Linked DNA regions of Homo sapiens: all the other regions are linked to region 1. Evidence: promoter capture Hi-C in human tissues and cell types (Jung and others, 2019). All regions are on one chromosome and are shown on one strand. Each heading gives the region's core, a stretch centred on a gene start or on the middle of the fragment in contact. The rest is flanking DNA. Distances are from core to core; before and after follow the strand shown. Region 1 holds the start of NTRK3 (neurotrophic receptor tyrosine kinase 3). Region 2 overlaps NTRK3 (neurotrophic receptor tyrosine kinase 3). Region 3 has its middle 170 kb from the start of LINC00052.

Region 1 (3,876 bases), core at 1,299-3,798:
ACTACCCACATCCACCCCCTACACACATACACATACAGCCCCAGCAATGCACTTCCAAGTCTGAGTTTCCCTAACAGTCTCACTCTGAACCCTTCTCCCTGCATCCTTGGGAATGCTGGAAGCCTGTGGCCTGCAGTGGGGGAGAGGCACAGTTGGGTCTGTCCTGTTCCTCCTGCCCTCCCTGCTGACCCCCGCCCCTTGGCTGTTTATCTTGTCATCTCTGGCCGGGTTGAAGAGGGTAAGGGGGTGAACAGCAGAGCTGAGATATGGGTCAAGCTTGTCTCCTGGGCCAGGAGTCAGAGACATCTCCTGGGCTATCCATTTCCCTCAAACTGTCAGCTGCGAGAGCGCAAGCAGAAGCTCCATTAAGCCGAGAGGGCTGGTGGGCTTTCCAAAGAGCAGGACTGCAATTCCTCCAGGCTTTGCAGCCCCATGGCCCTGGGCTGAAGCAAGGGGAGGTGCTCCCAGAGCAGCACCAAAGGCAGGTCCGGCCCCCTTAAGTCCGTCGAAGGGGTAAAGAGCCACCCAAAATGCCTTCCTCCAGACCTTGGCCAGGACCTCAGCACAAACCCTTCTCAGCTGCCTACCCATTGCTGAGGGTCCCCAAGGGCTGGAAGCCTTGGGGGAAAAGAGGTGAGAATTATCCTCTGAGCAATTCCAGTATGGTCCACACCCTTCTCCAGGGTGGTAGGTTAGGAAGGGGTCACCTGGCCGAGGTCAACGAAAGAAAAGAGGAGCAGACTCTCCAGTCCCCAGCCCTCGATCTGTCCTCTCCTTTGCGTCTGCTGCCATCCCCACCAAAGAAAAATAGCAAGGAGAAAAGAGCAGGCCACCACTGGTCTCCCTCGGAGGGGGCAGAACCAAGCAAAAGCCAGCCAGAGTTGAATGTTCCAAATGAACCGATCCGCACGATCACACAAGAAACCCCTCTCCTCAAAACACACGCCCTCTCCTCTCCCTGCGCCATCCTGACTCGGAATAGTTCCGAGCAGTTATCAAAGCCCAAACTGGGAAGGGATCTGTAGGCGCCCAGATGCAGATGAGGGTGGCAAAGGGGTGTCTCGGAAATGCCCAAAATGGGGCTGGAGAGGGCGGGCTGCAGGAGGGGAAGGGAAGAGGTAGGCGTCCATGACGGCCTCCACACGTCCAAAGTCTCCCCGCGAGCAGCCAGCTCGCAACTTGTTTACTTGTCAGCATGTTTTGCTGTTTCCAAATGGAAATAGTTAAACACCTCGGCTGGATCGCGAGCAGTCCCTATCTGTCACCTTCCCTGCCGGCTAAGCGCTGCCGCCGCTGCCACCGCCGCTGCCGCCTCTGCCAAAGAATCGAACCTCGTCTACTTTATTCCACTTGAGCGTGGCCAAACTGTTGCTATTTAGTGGGGAGCAAAAAAAAACAATTTGCACCATCGAAACGAGCCAGCAACTGGTTGGGAGGCGGGCGGTAGCTGGGCCCCGCGTGCCCTCGGCGGCCGGGGTCCTCTCCGGGGAGAGGCACACACACGCATAGCCGGATCGCGCCTCGCCAGGGCCGGAGTCACCTGGAATGCGCAGCCGGAGAGCATCTCCCGAGCCAGAGCGAGCCTGACGCGCGCCCAGCGGGCGGCGGGCAGCGGCGAGCTGGGGCGGGCGGAGGGCCGGCTCCCGGCCGCGGGTGGGCAGGAGGGAGACGCAGAGCGCGGGGGAGGCAGGCTGGGGAGCGGCCGCCTGACTTACATGGAAGTGATATTCCTTGAGATGTCCGTGATGTTGATACTGGCGTTCCCATTGCTGTTCCCTGAATCCTGCCCTTCCAGGAGGGGGAAGAGGTTCCCATCGTCCGGCCGCCGGCAATTGATCTCAGTCTTGCTGCAGACACAATTTGCAGGGCAAGCCAGCACGGAGCCCACATAGTCCAGCCAGACGCTTCCCAGCAAGAAAATCCGCCAGAAACTACACTTGGCTGGGCAAAGAGAGACATCCATCTCCGATCGCTGCTTCTAAAAAAGAGGAGGAGGAGAGGAGAGGGGGGTGGGGTGGGGGGAGTGGGGAGAGCAGGGGGGGAAGGAAACAAAGACGGCGAGGGAGGGGGGAAGGGGGAGGGGGGGCCTCTGCCTTTGAAACGCCGAGCGATCAGATGCAAAATCCTTCAGCGTCTGAAACCATCGCGGACGCCGCCGCCGCCGCCGCCGCCGCCGGGTGGGAGCCGCGAGGAGCGCCTAGTGGCGCGGTCTGCCGGGCATGGTGGCCGGCTCGGCGATCGCTGACTCGCCGGGTCCGGGGGCTCTGGAAGCGAGGCGCGCTCTCCGACTCCGAGACTTTGCAGGGTTGCAACAGACGGTGGGGAGGCAAAAAAAAAAAAGGAAAAGGAAAAAATGGTGCTAAAGTCACCAAGTCCCACCTACTGGGCAGAATTAAAACGGACACACCACGCACCTGCAAAACACACACACTCACTCTCACACATACACACACCCGGAGCCCGAGGAAAGGAAGAGAAGGAAGATGCAGTAGGAGCTGCAGCAGCCGCCGCGAATGGCTCGCCGCGCGGCTGCAGAAATGTACAAGTGCTCCGAGCCTTACGAAACGCACGGGTTATCGGAGCGTCTTCCTCGGCTCCCTCCCTCCCTTCCTCCCTCCCTCCTCCCCTCCCTCGTCGCGGCCTCCTCCCCCCGCCCCCCGCCCGGGCTGGGAGCGGCAGGAGAGCGGAATCTCCCCCTCCCTCCCCTCCCCACACCCGTCTCTCTCCCCGCCTGTCCTCTCCCTCCTCCCCACCCACCCACCCACCCACTCGCCGGCTCGCGGCTGTAGCCGGCACCGCCACCCGCAGCCTCGCGGCAGCCCGCCCGCTCCACGCCTCGCAGCGCGGCGCCCGCTAGCCGCAGCCCGGGGGAAACCGAGACCGAAGGGAAAAAGTTGCATTTGAGATTGCGAGGGTCGGGGCTGGGGAGGGAGAGTTGGCGAGCTGGCTGCACGACACGGAAAGGCGCTCTCCTTTCCACTTTTTGGCCCTCGCGCTACCCGGTTTTGCTGCAATCCGGACCGCGGTAGGAAGTGAAATGAACGTGGCGGAGGTGATTGGGGAGTGCTCCCAAGCCTTGGGTGGGGGGCGCTCCCAAGCCTGGGTGGGTGGGGGGCGCAGGCTCACGGACGGCGACGGGGGGTGCCGGAGCGCACAGACACCCCAGAGAAGCACCCAGAGCCGGGGACCGGGACCGCAGACGCGCAGTCCTTGGTCTGAATGACACTCATTTCCGTAATCTAGAGTCTGGGGCTCTGGTCTTGGCTGGGAGGGGACTGCGGGACATGGCACGCTAGGTGCCCCCCGTGCCCGCTGCGCTTTCTTGGAGGTGGGTTTTGCATTCGGCCTTGAGCAGGCATGGATCGGGGAAGGAAGAAACAGGGGTCGAAAGGGCTGCGCTGGAGAGCCGAGGTGGCCCCGGGCGAGCTGTGCGTGCAAGAGAAATGGCCGGGGGAAATTGAGATGCAAGGGGCATATTTTGGCAAGCGCCACGCCAGCACCGTCAGAGGCCGGCTTCTCGGGCTCAGCTCTCGGGTGAGCTGAGCTGGCTGCCGGGTGAGGGGGCGGGCGGGCTGCTTTCTCCGGATTCGGGGGCGCAGAACCTCCTCCTTCCCTCCCACACAAGCACCCCTTCCTGGTAGGGACGCAAAGCAGGTGCAGCTTTCGACGAGAGCTCAGATCTCATCCGGGAAAGAAGTGTGTGTGGGGGGGGCCCCGCTTTTGCGCTGGTAGGGATTTTTTTCTTAATAAAACATAAAGATGCCAAGTGTGAGCTGTTTGCTGAAAAAAAAAAAAACGAGCATTCGCTGTGGGAAAGGAGAAGAAAGGGTTAGGGGAGTCCGAGCAGGCAGACACACTACAGCATTCACACGCAGA
Region 2 (3,888 bases), core at 487-2,986, 360 kb before region 1:
GCCCAAAAAGGGGGACCAGGAACACTTTGCATATTTTAATTTCTTCAGTAAACAATACATAGCACAGCAGAAACCTACTACTGATGGCCACATCCCCAGGCAAAGGGTAGTCGGATGCACATCATGGGAGAGGACATAAAGAATATACAAGTCCTTCGCAGGCTACAGGCTGCCTTATCTAGCTTCTCTGAGCTGGAGCTGAATTTCCCATCTGTTCACTGACTGGCTGCTGGAGGAGCTTTGATAAGGGCAAGGAGAAGGTGGAAACAATTAGCCTTCTCACACACCTAAAGCTTTCTTGGGAGTTGAATGTACTCTTCATCCAATGGAAAATGGGATTTGTCTTTGAGTCATGAAAAAAGACCCTTTAATTCTAAAGGAAGGATGCTTGCTGCTGAGAGGAGAGAGCTCATAGATCACTTGCAGGACCACAGACATGAAACAGTTGATAAAGTCCTTTATCTTCATTTAAAAGTGGGGATTCAACTTGGAAAAAATAACAGCGTTAAATTCTCAAGGAAGTCTGAGGTTGGGTGGTAACAGCAGTCAAAGCACTCTGGGAACTGCAAGGTGATTCATCAAAAAAAGAAGTACCACCACTCTTTTTAAGCACCATAGGTTTCTAGTTGGGCCTTTCCCTGGGAAATGCCAGGAAAGGGGCATCTATTAACCCAGCCACACAGCCCTGGCAAGGCCTAGAGGCATCTTTAGCATCCTGGAATGGGGACAGGCAGAGGGAAGGTCTGGCACCAAGATAAACCAGGAACCTTAGTGAAAAGAGCACTGGATTCAGACTCAGGTCATCTGGGTTCTTGTCCCAGTTCTACTAGTGTGCCATCCTGTGGTCTTGGCAGCCCATGTTTTCTTTTGGTCTCAATGTTCATACTTGGAATAATGACATAGTTGGACCAGAGTTTTGCTAAGATTCCTCTCTGCTCAAAAATTGCATGAGCATAATTTTCTCATCTGAATCAGGACATCAAGAACACTGAACGAAAGCTCAACTCAAGGCCCTTCCTAACACCTGCAGCATCAGCAGCCTGACTTTACAGAGGGTGTGTGTGTGTGTGTGTGTGTGTGTGTGTGTGTGTGTGTGCTGTAGGCAGTGAAGGAGAGCATGGGCCAGAATTCAGGAGCTCCACGGCCCTGCCTTAGTTTGCATCATACCTCCTGGCTCACCCCTGGCCTTCTGTGTTCTCATCTGCATAATTGGTAGGGTGAGGGAAAGACTTCGACTAGTTGACCTTTAGGGATCATCCAGTTCCAAAAGGGGATGATTTGGTCAAGTAGAGACTGGATAATCTTTGGATGCCCCTCCTGGCCCTGTGAGAAGGTTAGAGCTCTGAGGTCCACTTCGTTCCACACAGCCTGCTACTCTACAACTGGGTCCTGGGGTGCCTCTTGGCAGTGAAGGGTGTAGGCCAAGGGCAGGTTCAGATGAAAGAGATGGAGGAGCTGTACCTCCATGCAGCATCTGGGATTCCAGGCCATAATCTGAGGCCTGCAGCTGTGGGCTGCTCCATCTCTCTTTATAAACAAGCCCTGCCTCTTGGCTTCTCCTTCAAGGTCAAAAGGCAGGAGAGGACTGCTCTGAGGATGAACCTACAAGAAAGTCTTAAATGTGAAGCCAGAAATCACAGTTGGAGAGTTGTTATTCAAAGGCATTCCTCCTCTGTTAACACACATTCCTGTTTCCAAAAAATATAGAAGGGGAATTTGAGCAGGTGGACTTCTTGTTTGTAGGCTAACGAAACTGGGATGAAGTATCTTTCTCAGGGTCACCTAGTGGGTCCCCAAAAGGTCAAGCCAGGCTGAGTGCTGGGGTAGGTAATCCCCAAGGGTAGAGCCCTCATCTTAATTTATCTGAAGCTCTGGCCTCCACCATAACAGAGGTAGAAAGAGATGCTTTCAGCATTCCAAGTTTGGGAGTTGAGTTGGGCTAAGTTCTTGTCCCAGTGAACATGGATATAGAACAACTTATTGCATGTTTATACTGTGCTAGGATATATGCTAAATGAATTAAAATGCACTGCTTCGCTCAATCCTCCTAAAACGCATTGGCTATGAAAACTACTATTATCGACAGCATTGTATTGAGAAAGGAAGAAAGGAAGGAGGAAAGTTGGGGAGGGGGGGAGAGGGGGAGAAAGGGAGAGAGGAAGGGAAAAAGGAGAGGAAGAGGTTAAGCATCTTATTCAAAAATGCTTGAGATAGAAAAATCCAAGTCTTGTACCCAAATTATTCTGATTCCAAAACCAAAGTTCTTATTCACCACCAAGTTAAAGTTCTTATACATTCTAAATTAAAAAAAGACTCATTAGTAAAAATGTTTTAAGGCATGTAAATTGATAGGTTAGGGTGGCACATTTTGGACAATGTGATAGAAATCCTATAAATGTGATTTATATAAAACACTCAGAAAAGCTGAAGGGGAATTTTCATTCAGAAATATCTAAATCAGCAGATTCAATGAAGTAAGATGGGAACCTACACCAGCCCAGAGAGCACTCATAAAGATGACATCAGAAAATATCTATGTTCCTCCATAGACAGATTGGAAAAAAGAAGCCAGTCATGGACTTTGCTTCCTGTGTCTTTCTCTTGGAGCTTTTCTCTGCATAATGTCCCGTCCCACTCTTGTAGAAATGGCACTGATAATTTCTCACCTCATCAGCTAGGCTCCTGATGGCAAGGCCTCCCTGACGAGGACAAGCCTTCACTACTGAACATCTAGGTCCCAGATAATGTGTTCAACTGTGGCAGCATTTGTCATCATAATTTTCAAAATACATTAGCCTTGATTGTTTGGAAATCTATTTCCCGTTAACATCTCTTTCTCTAAGATCATGGTCTTGGGCAGACAAAGAGAGAGGCAGAGAATGATGATGAAATTATGGAAAGAAGTCAGAGTAGAGATGAGAAGGAAGAAGGGAGAGAGGAAGCAACAGGCTCTACATGGTGACATTATTTAGGTCTTAGAATGAAGCCAACACTAGAAATAATTCCTAAACCTGGAAAACAAAAATTTTATTATAAAGACAGTACATTGCCTTTTTGCTTAAGGTAGAGAGTTTTCTGTCACAGCTGAAAAAATCCTGAGAAAACACTAGAAAATTCGACTCTCAAGTTAGTTTCTATTTCTAGAAATACAATGTCTATTTCTAGAAATGAACCAAAGAAAAAAGATTCAGAGAGATCCCAGAGGCCCATGTAAAAACCGACATGCCCAGCTAGGATGAAACTACGATAAGCCTCCTCTCACCCCGACTCCCCCTTGCTCCTTCCCCACCCTACATGTCTGCACCCAAATGCCAGAGCTTCACTGGCCATAAAGCCTCACAGGACACAGTTCACATTGTGGGCTCTGAGACCGGTGTCTGAACTAAAAGCTTTCCTTGGAGGGCTGCATTTGCCCCGGTGCCAGGATTCTTCAGCCGGATGCATCTGCCTGGAGATCTACTTTCCATTAGGGCTAGCCACAAGTGGCAGGAAGAGAGGAGGCAGCACTAATCAGAGGAACCAGCTAAGGCTCAAGAGAGGTGGGCACCAGTCTAGAAATAGCAGAACCCACATCATCGCCAGACAGGAGGCGGTGTCACAATTCTTGTAGTCATATGAATTTCTCATGAGTCATTTGTCCCAAAAGAATTGCGGAAGCAAAGGGACTTGACCAGCTTTGAAGATAAGATGCAGACCAAGAAGTCCCATCACGAGACTAGGGCAACATTCTCAGTGAGTGGTCCTGGATGGCACAACCAGAAAGATTCCCTCCCCTCCTCCATCATCTTCCCTGTAGCTCCTACAACCCCTTCCCTTGAAGACCTGAGCCCCACTGCATTCCAGGCCCCTTTTATCATCCTGTTCTAGGGGCTTGCTCTGCTCTGAGAC
Region 3 (3,692 bases), core at 942-3,441, 510 kb before region 1:
AGTGCATTGACTTTATTGCTTTGTTTTCATGGAATGCAAAAGTATTTGTGTCCTATTAATAGTTCACTCAGGATTATTTCCTTGAAGAGGCTTTAAAGTCCTTAAACACGAATCATCTTACCACAAATTCTCCTTATATATACAAGATTTTGACGTGAATATGGCATTCATGACCAAGTAAACTGTACTATTAAAATTCTAATTCTTTTTGCATTTGTTCTTATTGTCAACAAATTTTAAGTAAAATAAAATTAGATTTACATCCCATATCAACATTAGTTTTAAATAAATTTAAGATTTAATTGTAGTAAAACTATAATAATTCTAGGAAAAATGCATAGGTTATTATTTATATAATATTGAAAATAGGTTGTCAAAAGCTAAAGCCAAAAATGAAATGAGGCTGAGCATGGTGGCTCACGCCTGTAATCCCAGCACTCTGGGAGGCCGAGACAAGTGGACCACCTGAGGTCAGGAGTTTGAGACCAGCCTGGCCAACATAGCGAAACCCCATCTCTACTAAAACTACCAAAAAAAAAAAAAATTACCCAGGCATGCTGGTGGTTGCTTGTAATCCCAGCTACTTGAGAGGCTGAGGCAGGAGAATGGCTTGAACCCAGGAGGCGGAGGTTGCAGTGAGCCAAGATTACGCCACTGCACTCCAACCTGGATAAAAGATAGATCAAGACTCTGTCAAAAAAAAAAAAAAAGAATATTTGCCGGTAATATACATAACTGACCAAATCAGTATGAAGTGCTCTTCCAAATTAATACACACAAAAAAATTTGGGGGGAGCAAGTCTAAAGTAAGAGCATTTCAGTAGATGATCCAAATGTAGAGCCACTTTCCCAAGTGGCCTGTGCTGTGTGAATCCTCAAACTCCTATAGAAACCAGAAGATAAGAGTAACCTCAAGGAAAATGAGTAGAACTATATTTCTTTTCAAACTTGGAATATGGAGAAAGAACCTGTTAGATTTCGTTTTTAAAAGGAATGAGATGTGACATTTCTTACACCTAAATGTCTTTCAACAGTACGTATATTTCCTTGCCTACATTTTCTGAAAAGCAAAGATTGCACCTTAAGGAAAAATGCTATTTTATGCTCTAAGGGAATCTTGCTAAAGCATAGTGCACGTTTTGAAAAATAAACAAAAACAAAATAAAACTAAAGTGGGGAGAGGTTTTAGTGAGATTAAAAGATATATGAAGTGCTTGGGGTGGCTCCAGAATGTCTCACTATGGGGCCTGCACTTGCTCTTCCCTGGTGTGGAACACACTCCTTCCATATCTGCCATGGACTTGCTCCCTCATCTTATTCAAATTTCAGCCTAATCATCACCTCACCAGAGAGGCCTTCCTTGATCCCTTATCTAAGTAGCCATACGTTCTTTCTCATCATTCTCTGAGCTATGTCCTATTTCATCTGTGGCTGAAGTTATAGTAAGCATTTCTTCATTTAACTATTTATTTTCTGTCCTCTACGCTAGTTTCCCCAACCCCACAAGGTCAGGAACTTTGTTTTATCATTATTTATCCTCAGGGCCCAGAGGGGGTTCCTGGTATAGAGTAAGCGCCCAATAAAACATTTGTTGATGGAATATACAGTAAGTATTAAGTGGTGCTCATTATAGCTAGAGGAAGAGCAATCCATCCTTTTACTCGTGGTTCAGATCTTCAGTGTGGACCTTGTGCACCTTAGAGTAGAGGTGAAGAAGTGGAGCTGGGGAGTCATCCAGACAGAGGTATTTGCCACCAACTTCTAAACTTGTGAAAAAAAAATGAATCTACTGAAAGGTTGCAGGAATAGTGCAGAAAACACTTATATACCTTTCAACTAAATTTATCAATTATTAAAATTTCTTTTCTCTCTCTCTGTCACCACACAAATATACATATAGATAGATAGACACATACAGACATACATATATACATGCATATACATACGGATGTGTACACACACATACACACACACACTTTTTAACTAAACTATTGGAGAGGCAGTTATGGGCATCATCACATTCAACTCCTAAATACTTCAGCAGGCTATCTTTAAAGACCAAGGACATTCCCTTATAAAACCACAATACAGCTATTGTACTCAAGGAAATCTAACACTAACACAATACAATTGTCTAAAAAATTATTAGTACTCAAATCTCCCCAACTGCCCTAATACTGTCCTTTGTAGATGATGTATTTTAACACAGATGCAGTACAAAATCCACATCCCAACCAGCTAATGTGTATCTTCAGTTTTTTAATTCCCCATCTTTGTTTGCCTTTCATGACATTGATGCTGTTGAGTACGGTCCAGTCATTTTGCTTAACGCCACTCAGTGAGGACTGGTTTGATTGTCTCCGCATACTTAGATTTCAGTTATGTATTTTTGGCCAGAATGAGAGAGAAATGACAGTGTGGTGTCTTCCATGTACCACATTACGGGGTAACACAGATGCAATTTTGACTCCTGGCTTGTATTTACCATGTGACCTCAGGTAATTTGCATTACATCTCTGAACCTTGATCCCCAAATGTATAAAATGAAGATACAAATACTAACTTTCTGATGAGATATTTGAATAAGAGAATGTATAAAAAGCTTTTACACTGAGTCTGATTCTGGCTCTGTCATTTATCAGCTGTGTAACCTTGGACAAGTTTCTTAACTTCCCTGAACCTCAATTTCTTGACCTATAAAATGGAATTATAGTAACTAACTCTTAGCAATTCTGTGAAGATTAACAGAGACTACATGTCCAAAGTCCTGGAAAGAGTGGCTGGCATAGAATAAGTATCTAATAAATGTCAACAAGTCTCCTTGTTACTAATAAATGACATGTGAAGTCATAAAATGATGTCATCACAGCTTTTGAAGTCTAAAACTGCTTGTTTCTCCTCCATATCCCTGGGGTGCTTTGTAGAAACATGTGTCTTCCTTTTACAGCTTTTCTCTCTTCTCTGTCAAATTAACAGCATGCACTTTTGTTATGATCATAGGACAACCTAGCCTCACTTTTCAAATTTGTGGCTAATAGCCAGCCCTTGGTAGTGGAATCTAAGTGATTATGTTTGATAAAACTCAGTATAAATAGGTAAAAACCTGATCCTATGTTACTTCCTTCTTGCCTCCTTTTATTTTTCTCATTTAATTTAATGTTAAGCAGCTGAGTAAATACTCATTCAAAATGCAGTGAACTGAAGTACCTGTCATCTAGTTTAAATAGCATAATGCCCCATGGAGTGACCCTATAGGGTCAGTACGATTTAATATCTTTATCACGGGCTTGGTGAAGAATTAAGAACATTTCCATCAGTCTGCCCAGGCACCAAGCAGTGTCTTTCTATCCAAAGCCTGACTTTGCATATGGTCATCAAGAGGAAGTTGGGGGCCCTAGGATCAGTCACAGGAGAAGCCCTAGTCCCTTGTGGGTCCCCTGTACCATGCTCCTCAGCCCAACTCCATTCCTGACCTGTGCCCTGGAAGTTGACTGCAGATCTGATTCTCTGGTTTATCCCTCAGTGGTCCTCTGTGGGCATGATTCTGTACTCAGCCTCTGCAGTTCATCTGCATTTGGTCACCTCATGTTACAGCCTTGCTTCATCCATCCCTCATGGCAGTTCACTGAGCCAGCGAGCAACCTCTCCAGCCTCTCTGGCCTTCCAAGAAGGGTAATTAACCAACAACAAGT

The links. Contacts are between HindIII fragments. The study calls those that stand out against the background at their distance.
Region 2: a contact is called between a fragment that was not itself captured here and the fragment with the promoter of NTRK3 in region 1, in 2 of the 25 tissues and cell types used here (aorta and dorsolateral prefrontal cortex).
Region 3: a fragment that was not itself captured here is called in contact with the fragment with the promoter of NTRK3 in region 1 in 1 of the 25 tissues and cell types used here (dorsolateral prefrontal cortex).

The regions. Positions count from the first base shown.
Region 1 is chr15:88,254,191-88,258,066 of GRCh38, forward strand. It overlaps NTRK3 (neurotrophic receptor tyrosine kinase 3), which reads right to left and starts at 2,549. Exons shown (of 20, transcript NM_001012338.3): 1 at 2,454-2,549; 2 at 2,094-2,296; 3 at 1,716-1,978. The coding sequence starts at 1,963. The region is part of intron 1 of NTRK3-AS1 (NTRK3 antisense RNA 1); the gene reads left to right. RefSeq lists enhancers at 693-1,230, 1,231-1,767. The HindIII fragment of the contact is 6,423 bases long and covers 1-3,876 here.
Region 2 is chr15:87,899,636-87,903,523 of GRCh38, forward strand. The region is part of intron 17 of NTRK3 (neurotrophic receptor tyrosine kinase 3); the gene reads right to left. Among named protein-coding and RNA genes, the nearest start is that of MIR11181, 45 kb to the right of the region's middle. The HindIII fragment of the contact is 4,263 bases long and covers 1-3,868 here.
Region 3 is chr15:87,743,668-87,747,359 of GRCh38, forward strand. No RefSeq gene overlaps it. Among named protein-coding and RNA genes, the nearest start is that of LINC00052, 170 kb to the left of the region's middle. The HindIII fragment of the contact is 5,550 bases long and covers 1-3,692 here.